Regions from separate parts of the Homo sapiens genome. Here all the other regions are linked to region 2. The links are contacts of gene promoters, found by promoter capture Hi-C in human tissues and cell types (Jung and others, 2019). All regions are on one chromosome and are shown on one strand. Each heading gives the region's core, a stretch centred on a gene start or on the middle of the fragment in contact. The rest is flanking DNA. Distances are from core to core; before and after follow the strand shown.

Region 1 (4,741 bases), core at 2,045-4,544, 39 kb after region 2:
TACCTGTAATCCCAGCACTTTGGGAGGCCAAAGCGGGTGTATCACTTGAGTGCAGGAGATCGAGACCAGCCTGGACAACATAGTGAGACCCTGTCTCTACAAAAAATTTAAAAATTAACTGGGTGTGGGTGGGCGTGCTTGTCCTAGCACTTTGGGAGGCTGAGGCAGGAGGATGACTTGAGGCCAGAATTGAGACCAGCCTGGGCAATAAAGCAAGACCCTCATCTCAGAAAAAAGAAAAAGAAGATAAAAGAGAAGGAGAAAGAAAAGAAGTAGCGTGGGAAGAGTGTGAATTTCAGACTGAAAACAGTCCTGGGTTCAGATCATAATCTGAATGACTTAAGACAAGTTACTTAACCTGAGCCTCAGTTTTCTGAATCCTACCTTGAAAAGTTTGTGTGAGGATTAAATGACATAAAATACAAACATGCACAGTGTACCCAGCACACAGGGGCTCAGCTCCGTTGTATAAGCAGTCAACAAGTGTGAATTCTCGCCTTTCTAATTATCATCCTCATCCTTCTTCTTTTTTTTTTTTTTTTTTTTTGAGAGGAGTCTTGCTGTCACCCAGGTTGGAGTGCGGTGGTGTGATCTCAGCTTACTGCAACCTCCGCCTGCTGGGTTCAAGCGATTCTGCTGTCTCAGCCTCCCAAGTAGCTGGGACTACAGGTACACACCACCACACCTGGCTAATTTTTCTTGAATTTTCATTAGAGATGGGGTTTTGCCATGTTGGCCAGAATGGTCTCGAACTCCTGACCTCGGGTGATCCACTGCCTCAGCCTCCCAAAGTGCTGGGATTACAGGCATGAGCCACCGTGACCAGCCCATTCTTCTAAACAGTCCTTCCCCAGTGGAATGAAAATATTATTTGACGTGCAGATATTAAGCGTAAAAAGTGATCTGTTGGGCCAGGCACGGTGGCTCATGCCTGTAATCCCAGCACTTTGGGAGGCCAAGGTGAGTGGATCACGAGGTCAACAGATCAAGACCATCCTGGCCAACGTGGTGAAACCTGATCTCTACTAAAAATACAAAAATTAGCCAGGCGTGGTGGTGGGAGCCTGTAGTCCCAGCTACTTGGGAGGCTGAGGCAGGAGAATCACTTAAACCTGGGAGGCAGAGGTTGCAGTGAGCTGAGAGTGCACCACTGCACTCCACTCCAGCCTGGCGACAGAGCGAGACTCCATCTCAAAAAAAAAAAAAAAAAAAAAAAAGTGATCTGTTGCCTAAAGCAAGTTACATATTTTCAATTTATATGAGAACTTCAATTTATAGGGTTCAAATATTTTACTCTAAAATTGATGAAAATTAGTGCCAAGAGCCTGATCCCGTAAACAAACTGATGAAAGAATTTTTTTTTTTTTTTTTGAGATGGAGTCTCGCTCTGTCACCGAGGCTGTAGTGCAATAGCTCGATCTCAGCTCACTGCAAGCTCCACCTTCCGGGTTCGTGCCATTCTCTAGCCTCAGCCTCCCGAGTAGCTGGGACTACAGGCACCCGCCACCACGCCTGGCCAATTTTTTGTGTTTTTAGTAGAGACAGGGTTTCACTGTGTTAACCAGGATGGTGTCGATTTCCTGACCTCGTGATCCGCCCACCTCGGCCTCCCAAAGTGCTGGGATTACAGGCCTGAGCCACTGCACCTGGCCAAGAATTTTTTTTAGAAATATCCTTCTACATTTTCTCTTGCGTTCACAGACACTGCCTCATATGTCCTCTCTCTTAACAATCTGTCATGTTTTTCATCCACTTAAAATTGTTTTTAAAAGCACTAGAAAAGTGACTGCTGCTAGACAAGAAACATTCAGCTGTCAAGTTGGGAGAATTTTTTTGTTTGTTTCTTAACATCTTTTAAAAACACTAATACAGGGCCAGGCGCGGTAGCTCACGCCTGTAATCCCAGCACTTTGGGAGGCCGAGGCGGGCGGATCACGAGGTCAGGAGACGGAGACCATCCTGGCTAACAGGGTGAAACCCTGTCTCTACAAAAAATACAAAAAATTAGCCGGGCGTGGTGGCCGGCGCCTGTAGTCCCAGCTACTCGGGAGGCTGAGGCAGGAGAATGGTGTGAACCCGGGAGACGGAGCTTGCAGTGAGCCAAGATCATGCCACTGCACTCCAGCCTGGGCGACAGAGCAAGACTCCGTCTCAAAAAACAAACAAACAAACAAAAAAACACTAATACAGGCCGGGTGTGGTGGCTCACGCCTGTAATCCTAGAACTTTGGGAGGCCGAGGCGGGTGGATCACCTGAGGTCAGCAGCTCGAGACCAGCCTGGCTAACACGTTGAAACCCTGTCTCTACTAAAAATACAAAAATTAGCTGGGCATGGTGACGAGTGCCTGTAATCCCAGTTACTCGGGAGGCTGAGGCAGGAGAACCACTTAAACCCAGGAGGTGGAGGTTGCAGTGAGCCAAGATTGCACCACTGCAGCCTGGGTGGCAGAGTGAGACTATGTCTCAAAAAAGCAAAACAAAACAAAACAAAACAAAAACCTAATACAAAGATTTCTTTTTTTTCCCCAAGACGGAGGACATTTATTTACTCTAGAGGGATGAGGACTCCCCTTCCTTTCAGACTTCCCCAGCCAGTCGTGCCTTGACTTTGTGTTTATGGACCTGTTGCCCACTCTCTGCACCTCCCCTTCCTAATAAAGGGGACTCAGTTTCTTGTCTCCTTCATGAATTCCTGTCTTGTCCTGGTCGGTTCTTCTCCTTGGCAGCACCCTTCCTTCTGGAGCTGCAGCACAGGTGGAGTGGAAGAAAAGAAAGCCTGTGACATTTGGCCACAAAAACTCTTAAATTATAAACTTGTGATTCTTTTCATACGTGTATCAGGAAGCACCCTAGTAAGATATACTGGCTTCCTAAGATATGCTCTGTCTCCTGGGTTCAAGCAATTCTCCTGCCTCAGCCTCCCAAGTAGCTGAGATTACAGGTGCCCGCCACCATGCCCAGCTAATTTTTGTATTTTTAGTAGAGAGGGAGTTTCACCATGTTGGCCAGCTCGTCTCGAACTCCTGACCTCAGGTGATCCCCCCACCCCCAGGCCTCCCAAAGTGCTGGGATTACAGGCGTGAGCCACCGCACCTGGCCTATAGTGGCTCTTTATTCATGTAAAAATCAGACTTTTCCTATTCTGATCAGGAATGTTGACATATGCATACAGAATTCTATTGTTTCTATTTTCCTTCTTCAGTGCTGATGAGAGTGTTCCAAGCTGCTTCTTTTGGGCACAATTAGCGAAGTCCCTGAAAGAACCTGAGCCTGTAGTGTGGTTGGGACATTAGATGCATTTTGAAAACTTAAGTAAATGCTATAAATCTGAATGTTACTCTTTTTTAATCCCTTGAGATGAATACAGAACAGTTGCTCAGTGTCTTGAGTGAAAGGCATCTTTTTCTCTTTTGCAGGTAGTACAAGACTGGAAATTTGTAGCTCAAGTTCTTGACCGAATCTTCCTGTGGCTCTTTCTGATAGTGTCAGTAACAGGCTCGGTTCTGATTTTTACCCCTGCTTTGAAGATGTGGCTACATAGTTACCATTAGGAATTTAAAAGACATAAGACTAAATTACACCTTAGACCTGACATCTGGCTATCACACAGACAGAATCCAAATGCATGTGCTTGTTCTACGAACCCCGAATGCGTTGTCTTTGTGGAAATGGAACATCTCCTCATGGGAGAAACTCTGGTAAATGTGCTCATTTGTGGTTGCCATGAGAGTGAGCTGCTTTTAAAGAAAGTGGAGCCTCCTCAGACCCCTGCCTTGGCTTTCCCAGACATTCAGGGAGGGATCATAGGTCCAGGCTTGAGCTCACATGTGGCCAGAGTGCACAAAAAGCTGTTGCTACTTGGTGGAGGAACACCTCCTAGAAGCAGCAGGCCTCGGTGGTGGGGGAGGGGGGATTCACCTGGAATTAAGGAAGTCTCGGTGTCGAGCTATCTGTGTGGGCAGAGCCTGGATCTCCCACCCTGCACTGGCCTCCTTGGTGGTTTTGTCTGAGCTGCAAACTGGGGCCGTGTTATGCTTGTTAGCAATGGGCCAGGCAAATCTCAACAAGGGTTTGGGGATTACACTGGCAGGATAGCTGGCACTGCACACTTAACAATAACACAGATTCCAAGTTGCCTGGCCTACCGAAGCAGGTGTTATTCATGGTTTATTCCCAGCATGATAAGGCTTTCAGATGGTGAAACTGGAGCCCACTGTGAGCTGTGACTTCCTTTAAGGTCATGCATACCAAAATAACTCACAATAGAAACAAAGCCCTTTGCTACCAGAAGTGGATTCATTAATACCCATTATCTTTTCCTAGTAAACTAGTGTACAGAACATTCTCTGATTAATGGTTTTTGATGTCACCTCGTCTAATCGGATCCATACCAACACTATCCCCTAGGCTCCACCTGCTGTTTCCCTGTCTCCTGGCACCTGGGTGGGCTTCACCCCCACCCACCATCATTCCTTCTCTAAGACTCCGAGGGGAGTCTGCTCAGGTTCTTCTTGCCCTCCAAAATTGCTGCCTCTGCCCAATCCTTCCTGAATTTTAGCTTAAAGCAATTTTTCTCTCTGCCCAGTTATAAATCCAAATCCCTTTCTGGAGTACTTTTAGGCATGGCTCTTGCAAGCAGTTTGCAATCTAGGCTGGGTGGAGTGGCTCACACCCATAATCCTAGCACTTTGGGAGGTCAAATCAGGAGGATTGCTTGAGGCCAGGAGTTTGAGACCAGCC
Region 2 (4,447 bases), core at 1,678-4,177:
CCTTGGCAATTGGGCTGGCTCTCTTATTTTTGTTATTTGCAAATCCACTAAGTGTATCTTCCATGCCTTCAAGATGTTAAATGTGTTAGATCCACGCAGCCCACCACTAAAGACCCTCTTCCAGGCTTGACATCCGTTTGTTAATCCACACCCTTGTTTACAGTTGCTTAATTAGTTCTGAGTCCCCTTACATGTACTACAGAACCAACCACAATGCTCCTTTTTGTCCCCTTAGAGGTCATGAAATAATTTCTCAAAGTTTCTCCTTTTCTCATCATTAATACCAAAATGTCCTTTTCTTTAAAAAATCTTTTGTCTTTCCTGCCTTAATAACCTTTTTAATGGTGTTGTTTTATATTCTAAAAAGTAAAAGTTATAAAAAGCTCAGTTGAAGGGTGTTGACTCATACATCAACTGGGTGACCACAATGCTATCATGCATGTTAGTGTGTGTGCTTGTGTGTGTGCACTGGAAGGAAGTAAAGCATTGATGGTGATTGGATTAGAATCATGGACTGTAAGTGGTCTTGAAATGTAGTATTAGGATTACACTGCTTTCATGATTACTAAATGCCAATCAGAACTTACATCTTCAATTGAAAGCACACCTGGCCGGGCTCGCACAGTGGCTCACACCTGTAATCCCAGCTCTTTGGGAGGATGAGGCAGTTGGATCACTGGAGGTTGGGAGTTCGAGACTAGCCTGGCCAATATGGTGAAACCCTGTTTCTACTAAAAATATAAAAATTACCTGCACGTGCTGGTGGACACCTGTAATCCCAGCTACTCAGGAGGCTGAGGCAGGAGAATTGCTTGAACCTGGGAGGTGAAGGTTGTAGTGAGGCGAGATTGCGCCACTGCACTCCAGCCTGGGCAACAGAGCAAGACAGCCTCTTTTCCTGTGTCTATTTGATGTCCGCTTTTCCCCCCAAAGTCTAAACTCAATGGAGAGATGATTTGAGGTTTCTACAGTGGGATGGTGAAGAGTTGAGTATCTTTGCAGGGAGAAAGGTGGCTGTAAAGTGAGACAGAAAAGAACTTCCCAAGGCATAGGAAGGGGCTGGCAGGTCCTTCTGGCAGCAGGACCGTGCCCTGCTCAGGGTTGCACTCAAGGGGTGCAGTCCTCAGCAGGCCAGGGTTGTGTGGGACCCAGGGAGGCAGGGTCCTGTTACCAAGGCCTCCGGTATTGGCAGAATCCTGGGTCTTGGCAGAATCCTTGGCATCGGAGAAGGCAAAGAGCAACCGAGCTGTTGGCTCCATGGGACCGTGTGGGTGGGGCATGGACCCCAGCTGTGGTCAAGGCAGCCTGGAGGATACAAGACTGTGCCATATTTTGGGGACCACAAAAGGCTTCCAGATTCAGTTGCTCCCCTAGGGAGAAGGCTGCAGGGCCTGCAATGACTGAGATTGGATTTCCAGCCAGTTCCATGGAAGGCTAGCTTCATTTTATTCAATTTCTTGAAAATAAAGGTGAAACTTCCTGCACACTTGGATTGGCGGTGGCTGATTTACTCCTGAGACCATTACAAATTCTCAGCAGGCTGGGAGCACAGTTGAGATGGATAGGAGGAAATCAGTGCATGGCTCCTTCCTTCCTCCTTGCATTCCCACAACGTTCTCAAGCATTTGCAGGTGTCAGGCCCTGGACACAGAGAGATACAGAGGAGACTCCAGAGGGCTGGAGACCAAGCCCTCCTGCAGGAGCTGGTGGTCTAGGAAGGGAGGCCAGGCAGGGCAGCGACATTGTGATGTGAGGGGCTCTGAGACAGGGGCCCTGAGGAACAGACAGGGCTCAAGAGCTCAGGGTCCCGGGGTCCTGGGCTAGACCTCTTTTCCACACATGATGCCTCCTTACCGAGCACCCTCTGGGTGTCTCAAACTCACTAATGGCACACAGAGGAGGGTTAAATTAAGAAATTTAAAAATTGGACTAAATCACTGCCGCTAAGACAGAATTCCTCCATGCCCTGGAGTGGGTTCCTCCAGCACTCAGTTCCCAACCAGATAGGTCTTGGCTCCCACCTGGCCCTCTTGTCTGTCTAGCCCTGACTTTGTACTTGCCATTCATTTGATGTATCATGCATTTATCAAGGGCCCTCTGGGTGTGCACAGCACTGAACTAGATGAAATCTGATCAACTGTGAAGAAGAAAGGATGGTGTTATTAGTGTCCAAGTCTCATACATAAAACACCACTAACCTCCCACCCTACTGTCCCCTGCAGTGACCAGAAGGTGGGCCTGGTGGGGTCAAGGGAGCCACAGAGAATGTGCTGATATTAACACATGTGGGAACCAGCAGAATAGGGAGGCTCCAGGACATACTCATGACTTCAGGTCCAACTGGAAAAGAGAATAGAGAGGCTGGGCGCAGTGGTTCATGCCTGTAATCCCACCACTTTGGGAGGCCAAGGCGGGCGGATCTCCTGAGGTCAGGAGTTCAAGACCAACCTGGCCAACATGGTGAAACCCTGTCTCTACAAAAATACAAAAATTAGCTGGGCATGATGGCAGGTGCCTATAATCCCAGCTACTCAGGAGGCTGAGGTGGGAGAATGGCTTGAACCTGGGAGACGGAGGTTGCAGTGAGCCGAGATTGCACCATTGCACTCCAGCCTGGGTGACAGAGTGAGACTCCATATCAAAAAAAAAAAAAAAAGAATAAAAAGAAAAAGAAAAGAGAATAGAGAAATAACGGGGATGAGAAACTTTTCACTATGGATGTGGTAAAGTGTGGTTCTTCTGTACGCAGATCTCCAACTGTAAGAAAAATAGCACAGAACATTCAGAAGTTGTCTAGTTTCATCCTTTCTCCAGTGCCCCGCATCTCTTGCAAGGGAGTAAATTAATAAGTCAGGAGTTAGGACCCAGAGATATGTTTTAGACTTACACGATCTGACAGCTGACTGCAAATCAATGAAGTGCACTTTGAGAAGCGGCACACTCGGCGAGAGGGGTTGAGATTGTTTTATTCCACTCCAGGTGTTGCTGTCCTCTTGGGTTCCACTTCGGATTTTGAACCCCTGTATTTTCTTTTCAAAACCCCCTTTTCCAGTGGAAATGCTCTGTTGTTAAAAAGGAAGAAACTGTCTTTCTGAAACTGACATCACGATGCTCCCAGATTTTATGCTGGTTCTCATCGTCCTTGGCATCCCTTCCTCAGGTAAGCACAAGTCACAGTAAATTAAAACTACAGTTGCAGAATTATTTAAGCAGAGGAGGCAAAACTATGGTGTTGATAATGTTAGAATTACAATATGTAATGCACAAGATACATTTAGGATAACCTTTAAAATGTGGCCCAAATGAGTAATTCTGTGAGATGTGGGGTTTTTTTTGCTGAAGAAATCATATCTATGATTTTCATAATGTTTATGTTTTTGTCATTTGCTGCGTTTCTCCTTCTGAATCACTATGAGCTTGGTAAGAAAATACAAAAGCAGGAAAAACATTATTGAATGCACTGAGCATTACTCAGAGAATTGTTCAAATATTTGGCACAGAAATTTACTATATCAACATTTTTCTATCATATTTACCAATAATTTCTATATCTGCATGTAGATATTTAATTTTGTCCAATATGCCCTGTAGGCCTATATATTTTAATAAATCTGTGTATGTAGGTAGATTTAGCATGTTTATATATCACAATTAAACACCAATGTATCAAAACTCTATGTGTTTTATGTGACTATTATCAACTGAAAATAGAGGAATTTTTGATAAGGATAAAGGACAAATAAAAGGAAAAAGTGAAAGATAGAGACAGAGATGCAGAGAAAGAACAAAAAGAGAAAAAGAAAGGGGAATAAAGTACTGAAAGGCTTTGGGGATTGGTCATTTGCACCTGCCAATTTCCTGGGTTTGGGAATCTTTTCACTTTTTGTGTAACTTGAGAACAGAAAGTTTTCCCCCATTGAATCAGAAACCATCTGAAACCGCAGCCAGATGGTGAGAAAAGTGTCAGTTCACTAGCAATTTGTATTAATTTCTCAGTAGTATTTTTGCCACGTTTGATTATTGTAATTTTCAAATGGAGAACTGGAGACACTAAGGGAGATTTGCCCAAATCCAGAAATAAATTCTACATTTCAAGTTCCCAAGGCTGCGAGGCACCTGAACATTATCCTGTTGTCAAAAACGCCTTTTCTCAGACCAAGGACTCAAAGTCAAACAGGAATTTCTAAATGCAGAAAGCCTCAAACTCACTTTCAAATATCATGAAATTTGGACTTTTCAAAGTCTTGAATGCAGTTTGCCAATCACAAAAATGATAAGAAAATTCTGTGTGTTTGAGCTTACCATTAATGTACGTGTGTCTGATGTTTTTCTGTCTTTATTATTCTATTTATTATAAGACAATTGATTCTTACCACTCTTTTCCCAAGGAATGATTTCTCTCAATGGTTAGCGAGGGTGTTTAGCATAAACTCTCTTGGTTCAGCTA
Region 3 (5,011 bases), core at 2,473-4,972, 61 kb after region 2:
CCTCTGGGGCAGCTTTTCTCTTTCTACCTTTTTATTTGCTGCTGTTTCTTGTGCAGGGGCTTTTTTTTTTTTTTCCTGAGACAGGGCCCTGATCTGTCGTCTATCTCCCAGGCTGTAGCCTCAACCTCCTGGGCTCAAGCAATCCTCCCACCTCAGCCCCTTGAGTGGCTGGGACTACAGGTATGCACCAACACGCCTGCTAATTTTTTTTTTTTTTTTGGTAGTTCAGGGTCTCACTATGTTGCCCAGGCTGAGGCTCTTAGTTTCATTAACTGAGGTTGCCCTGAATGTTTGTTTGTTTGTTTTTATTTTTGAGATGGAGTCTCTCTCTGTCACCCAGGCTGGAGTGCAGGGGCGCCATGTCAGCTCACTGTAACCTCCACCTCCTGGGTTCAAGCGATTCTCCTGCCTCAACCTCCCAAGTAGTTGGGATTACAGGCCTGTGCCACTATGCCTGGCTAATTTTTGTATTTTTAGTAGAGATGGGGTTTCCCCATGTTGGCCATGCTGGTCTCAAACTCCTGACTTCAGGTGATCCGCCTGCCTTGGCCTCCCAAAGTGCTAGGATTACAGGCGTGAGCCACCACGCCCGGCCCTGAATGTTCATTTTAAGCAAATTTTACTTGAGTTCACATTTCTGGAGGTGGAGATTTGCTCTGGGGCTATTGCACCTGACCCCGCTCCACTGGCAGGTCTGACCCTGTCAGTCCACCCATAACCACATAATAACAGAGCCAGGTCTCAGAGCAAGGCCGCCTGACCCTCTCAGGAACAAAAGTCACACTGAAGGTCTGACTGTGCATCCAGAGTGCCCATAGGCTGCAAAGGGTGCAAGCTGGCTGGGTGGAGGGAACACACATTTACCTCCTTGGTTTCATTGTGGCTCTTCATGTTTTCTGCTATGAACTGAACACTGTTAATCACATCTTCAACTTCAGGCGAGTGCTCCGAATTTTCCACCACCCACTGTAATGGCTGATGACTTAATCTTCTCTTGCTTGTGGCAAGCTCATTTGATTTGTGACAATGGAAGCATTCTTTAAGATGTCTGGGTTCCCCATGGCTTGCAAGCTTGCCTTTGGCAGGCCTCCTGGCAAGGCCTCTGGGCACTGCATCAGAGCCTGTGCCCCTTGTCTTGTCCAGAGGCCACCTCATCAGCAGGACCTGGGGCAGCAGCTTCAGGAAAACTGTCTTCACCCACCTGGGCATTGTGTGCGTGGTTGGGGTGCGGTAGTGTATGTTCAACACAAACACAGTCACCACGATGGACAGTGTGACAAAGATCATGGTGAACAGCAGGTACTCACCCACCAGTGGGACCACCAGAGATGTGGATGGGATGGTTTCTGTGATGACCAGCAAAAACACAGTCAGAGAAAGCAGGACTGAAATACAAAGCGTCACTTTTTCACCACAGTCCGAAGGAAGGTAAAAGACCAACACGGTTAGAAATGAAATAAAGAGACAAGGGATGATCAGATTAATCGTGTAAAACATCGGCAATCTTCTAATGTAGAAAGAATAGGTTATATCTGTGTATATCTCTTCACAACAGTTGTATTTGATGTCATGTTTGTAGCCAGAGGCATCAATGATTTCCCATTCACTGTTTTCCCAAAAATCATTCATATCCACTTTTGATCCAATGATTAGAAGATCAATTTCAGCTTTGTCATACGTCCAGGAACCAAATTTTAGGGAACAGTTTTGATGATCAAAAGGGAAAAAGGTGATATCCATAGGGCAGGAACTCTTAAAAATAGCTGGTGGAGTCCAGGTTATCATGCCATTGTATTTAAGAAGAGCTTTTGTTTTGCCTTCTACTTGGAAGTCACCAACAGCACTGCAAAGCAAGTCAGACACCATTAGTAACACTCCCTTTGCTATAGGCCAGAATACACCAACAGCAGCTTTGGAAAGAGGCTACGGTGGTCAGAGACCCATACTTGTTATAGAGAACAATGTCGGGCTTCCAAATCTTATCTGCAGGAACGCGAAGAGTCTCAATGCCATCATATTCCATTGGATCCCAGCGCAATTTATAATCATTCCAGATCTAAAATAAATAGAAATCAGCTTTTAAAATTTCTTAATAACTTTCGGGCCAGGCATGGTGGCTCACGCCTGTAATCCCAGCACTTTGGGAGGCCGAGGCAGGCAGGTCACTTGAGGTCAGGAGGTCGAGACCAGCCTGGCCAGCATAGTGAAACCCCGTCTCTACTAAAAATACAAAAATTAGCCGGGTGTGGTGGCCAGCGCCTGTAGTCCCAACTACTCGGGAGGCTGAGGCAGGAGAATCTCTTGAACGTGGGGGGCAGAGTTTGCAGTGAGCTGAGATCATGTCACTGTACTACAGCCTGGGTGACTCTATCTGGAAAAAAAAAATGTGTTTCTTAATAACTTTCTTCCAATGTTAACTTTATGATGGTTCAACAGTTGTTGTTGAAAAAAGAATACATTTGGCCAGGCGTGGTGGCTCACGCCTGTAATCCCAGCACTTTGGGAGGCCGAGGTGAGCGGATCACTAGGTCAGAAGATTGAGACCATCCTGGCTAACACGGTGAAACCCCATTTTTACTAAAAATACAAAAAAAAAAAAAAATTAGCCAGGCATGGTGGTGGTTGCCTGTAGTCCCAGCTACTCCGGAGGCTGAGGCAGGAGAATGGCATGAACCCAGGAGGCGGAGCTTGCAGTGAGCCGAGATCGTGCCACTGCACTCCAGCCTAGGCGACGGACCGGGACTCTGTCTCAAAAAAAAAAAAAAAAAGTGGCCCGGCGCGATGGCTCACGCCTGTAATCCCAGCACGTTGGGAGGCCGAGGCGTGCAGATCACGATGTCAGGAGATCGAGACCATCCTGCCTAACACGGTGAAACCCCGTCTCTACTAAAAATACAAAAAAAATTAGCCGGGCGTGGTGGCGGGCCCCTGTAGTCCCAGCTACTCAGGAGACTGAGGCAGGAGAATGGTGTGAACCTGGGAGGCGGAGCTTGCAGTGAGCCGAGATCGCGCCACTGGACTCCAGCCTGGGCGACAGAGCGAGACTCCGTCTCAAAAAAAACCAAAAAACAAAAAAAAAAAGTAAAAATAATACATTCTTATTTGAAGAATGCATTGGTTGCTATCAAAATCTGGACAATTATATCCATGGGGAACAGGGAGCTAAATAGCTGAGCTGATTTAGGCAAATATTTCATTAGATAATTATGTATTGATTATTAGTTAGCTGGTTAAAGTTTTAGGCTCAACTTCCATATTCCGTGAGCTATACTCACACTGGAGTATAGCTCTAATATCAAAAAGTTCAAGGGTATGATGATAAGCTTTGAATTAAAAAAAAATCTGTATAAACGATTAAGACTTCCTTTCTGTTTTTTTTTTGTTTTGTTTTGTTTTCAAGACAGAGTCTCGCTCTGTTGCCCATGCTGGAATGTAGTGGTGCAATCTCAGCTCACTGCAACCTCTGCCTACTGGTTCAAGCGATTCTCCTGCCTCAGCCTCCCGAGTAGCTGGGATTACGGGCACCCACCACCACGCCGGGCTAATTTTGTATCTTTATTAGAGACAGGGTTTCATTTCACCATGTTGGCCAAGTTGGTCTCGAACTCCTGACCTCAGGTGATCCGCCCACCTTGGGCTCTCAAAGTGCTGGGATTACAGGCATGAGCCACTGCACCCCTCCAAGACTTTCTTAAGGAAGAAAGGTATAACTGATAAAACCAGCTGCTGGGAATCTCATGTACATGCTCCCAAGCTCAGCTACTGACTTCTCCAAGCCTGGTCAAGCAGGGATCAAAGAGCAGGCAAGCATCAGACCCTGGAGCTCAAGTTACAGAAAAGTGGAAGATCTGAGAGCAGCAACCAGGAAGGATGGAAACCTCTATGTCAGAGGGACCTTTGTCACTAAGTGTCTGCACCTGTGAAGCATGCATCAAGTCAGCTATTACCAGAGCTGAACTTTAGGCTTTGGAGATGACCTAGTGGATAATATTTTATATTCTATAACCAGTTGGAGATGGAACAAGGTAGTGCTTGTGGGTTTTATCCATTCAACATCATTAAGCCAACACATGATATAGGCACATACGTGACGCAGCCACAAATTGGTTTCCATGATCTGGTTTACTTCATCCTGGGAAGAAGAAATAATACTTTTAGCCTCAAATGTGCTTGCCATAGAGGTGAGACTTAGAGCAAAAATTACAACTAAAAAGAACCAAATCTGACTTATTCATGCCAATAGAAGAAGACTTCAAGGCAATGTGTGAAAGCATTCAGCATGCAAGCAGAAATGCCGCATTTTCACATCTGGCTCCAGCCCTGTGGATTTTGAGAGGCAATGTGGCTTTAAACTCTTTCATAGCTGATTTAAGCCTCACCTCTTCTGTGAAGTGCTTCCGATCTCTGCAGCCCATAAAGGTTTCTAGTTCCATGAAAGGAAGGAAAGAAAAGAAGAGCGACAGCAGGTAGGAGGGAGGGAGATGCTGCAGAAAGTGGTGAGGATTCCAACCCCGCACAGTGTTTTTGCCTGTTCCCTAAACGCCTCCCATCCTCGACTGTGCCTCAGGGCTCTCTGGGCTCTGAGTCCTGAGACCCCTGCCCTGGGATCCTATCTTGAAATGCCAGCCTCAGCCAGCTGGGCGCGGTGGCTCACACCTGTAATCCCAGCATTCTGGGAGGCCGAGGCGGGTGGATCACCTGAGGTTAGGAGTTCGAGACCACCCTGGCCAATATGGTGAAACCCCGTCTCTACTAAAAAATACAAAAAAATAGTCAGGTGTGGTGGCGGGCGCCTGTAATCCCAGCTACTTGGGAGGCTGAGGCAGGAGAATTGCTTGAACCAGGGAGGTGGAGGTTGCAGTGAGCGGAGATCGTGCCACTGTACTCCAGCCCAGGCGACAAAGACTCCATCTCAAAAAAAAAAAAAAAAAAAGTCAGCCTTGGCCACCATGGGGTTTCCAGCTGGCAGCTGCTACTCACCCCCAGCGAAGCCACCACTTCGATCGTTCAC

What was found. Contacts are between HindIII fragments. The study calls those that stand out against the background at their distance.
Region 1: a fragment that was not itself captured here is called in contact with the fragment with the promoter of CHRNB3 in region 2 in 1 of the 25 tissues and cell types used here (liver).
Region 3: a fragment that was not itself captured here is called in contact with the fragment with the promoter of CHRNB3 in region 2 in 1 of the 25 tissues and cell types used here (mesenchymal stem cells).

Annotation. Positions count from the first base shown.
Region 1 is chr8:42,733,067-42,737,807 of GRCh38, forward strand. It overlaps CHRNB3 (cholinergic receptor nicotinic beta 3 subunit), which reads left to right. Exons shown (of 6, transcript NM_000749.5): 6 at 3,418-4,341. The coding sequence ends at 3,552. Among named protein-coding and RNA genes, the nearest start is that of CHRNA6, 33 kb to the right of the region's middle. The HindIII fragment of the contact is 8,723 bases long and covers 1-4,741 here.
Region 2 is chr8:42,694,439-42,698,885 of GRCh38, forward strand. CHRNB3 (cholinergic receptor nicotinic beta 3 subunit) reads left to right here and starts at 2,928. Exons shown (of 6, transcript NM_000749.5): 1 at 2,928-3,160. The coding sequence starts at 3,109. LOC124900250 (a long non-coding RNA gene) reads right to left here. Exons shown (of 3, transcript XR_001745887.2): 1 at 4,374-4,447; 2 at 2,888-3,062; 3 at 2,060-2,137. The HindIII fragment of the contact is 12,880 bases long and covers 1-4,447 here.
Region 3 is chr8:42,754,982-42,759,992 of GRCh38, forward strand. It overlaps CHRNA6 (cholinergic receptor nicotinic alpha 6 subunit), which reads right to left. Exons shown (of 6, transcript NM_004198.3): 3 at 4,088-4,132; 4 at 1,947-2,056; 5 at 865-1,843. Among named protein-coding and RNA genes, the nearest start is that of CHRNA6, 11 kb to the right of the region's middle. The HindIII fragment of the contact is 3,051 bases long and covers 2,198-5,011 here.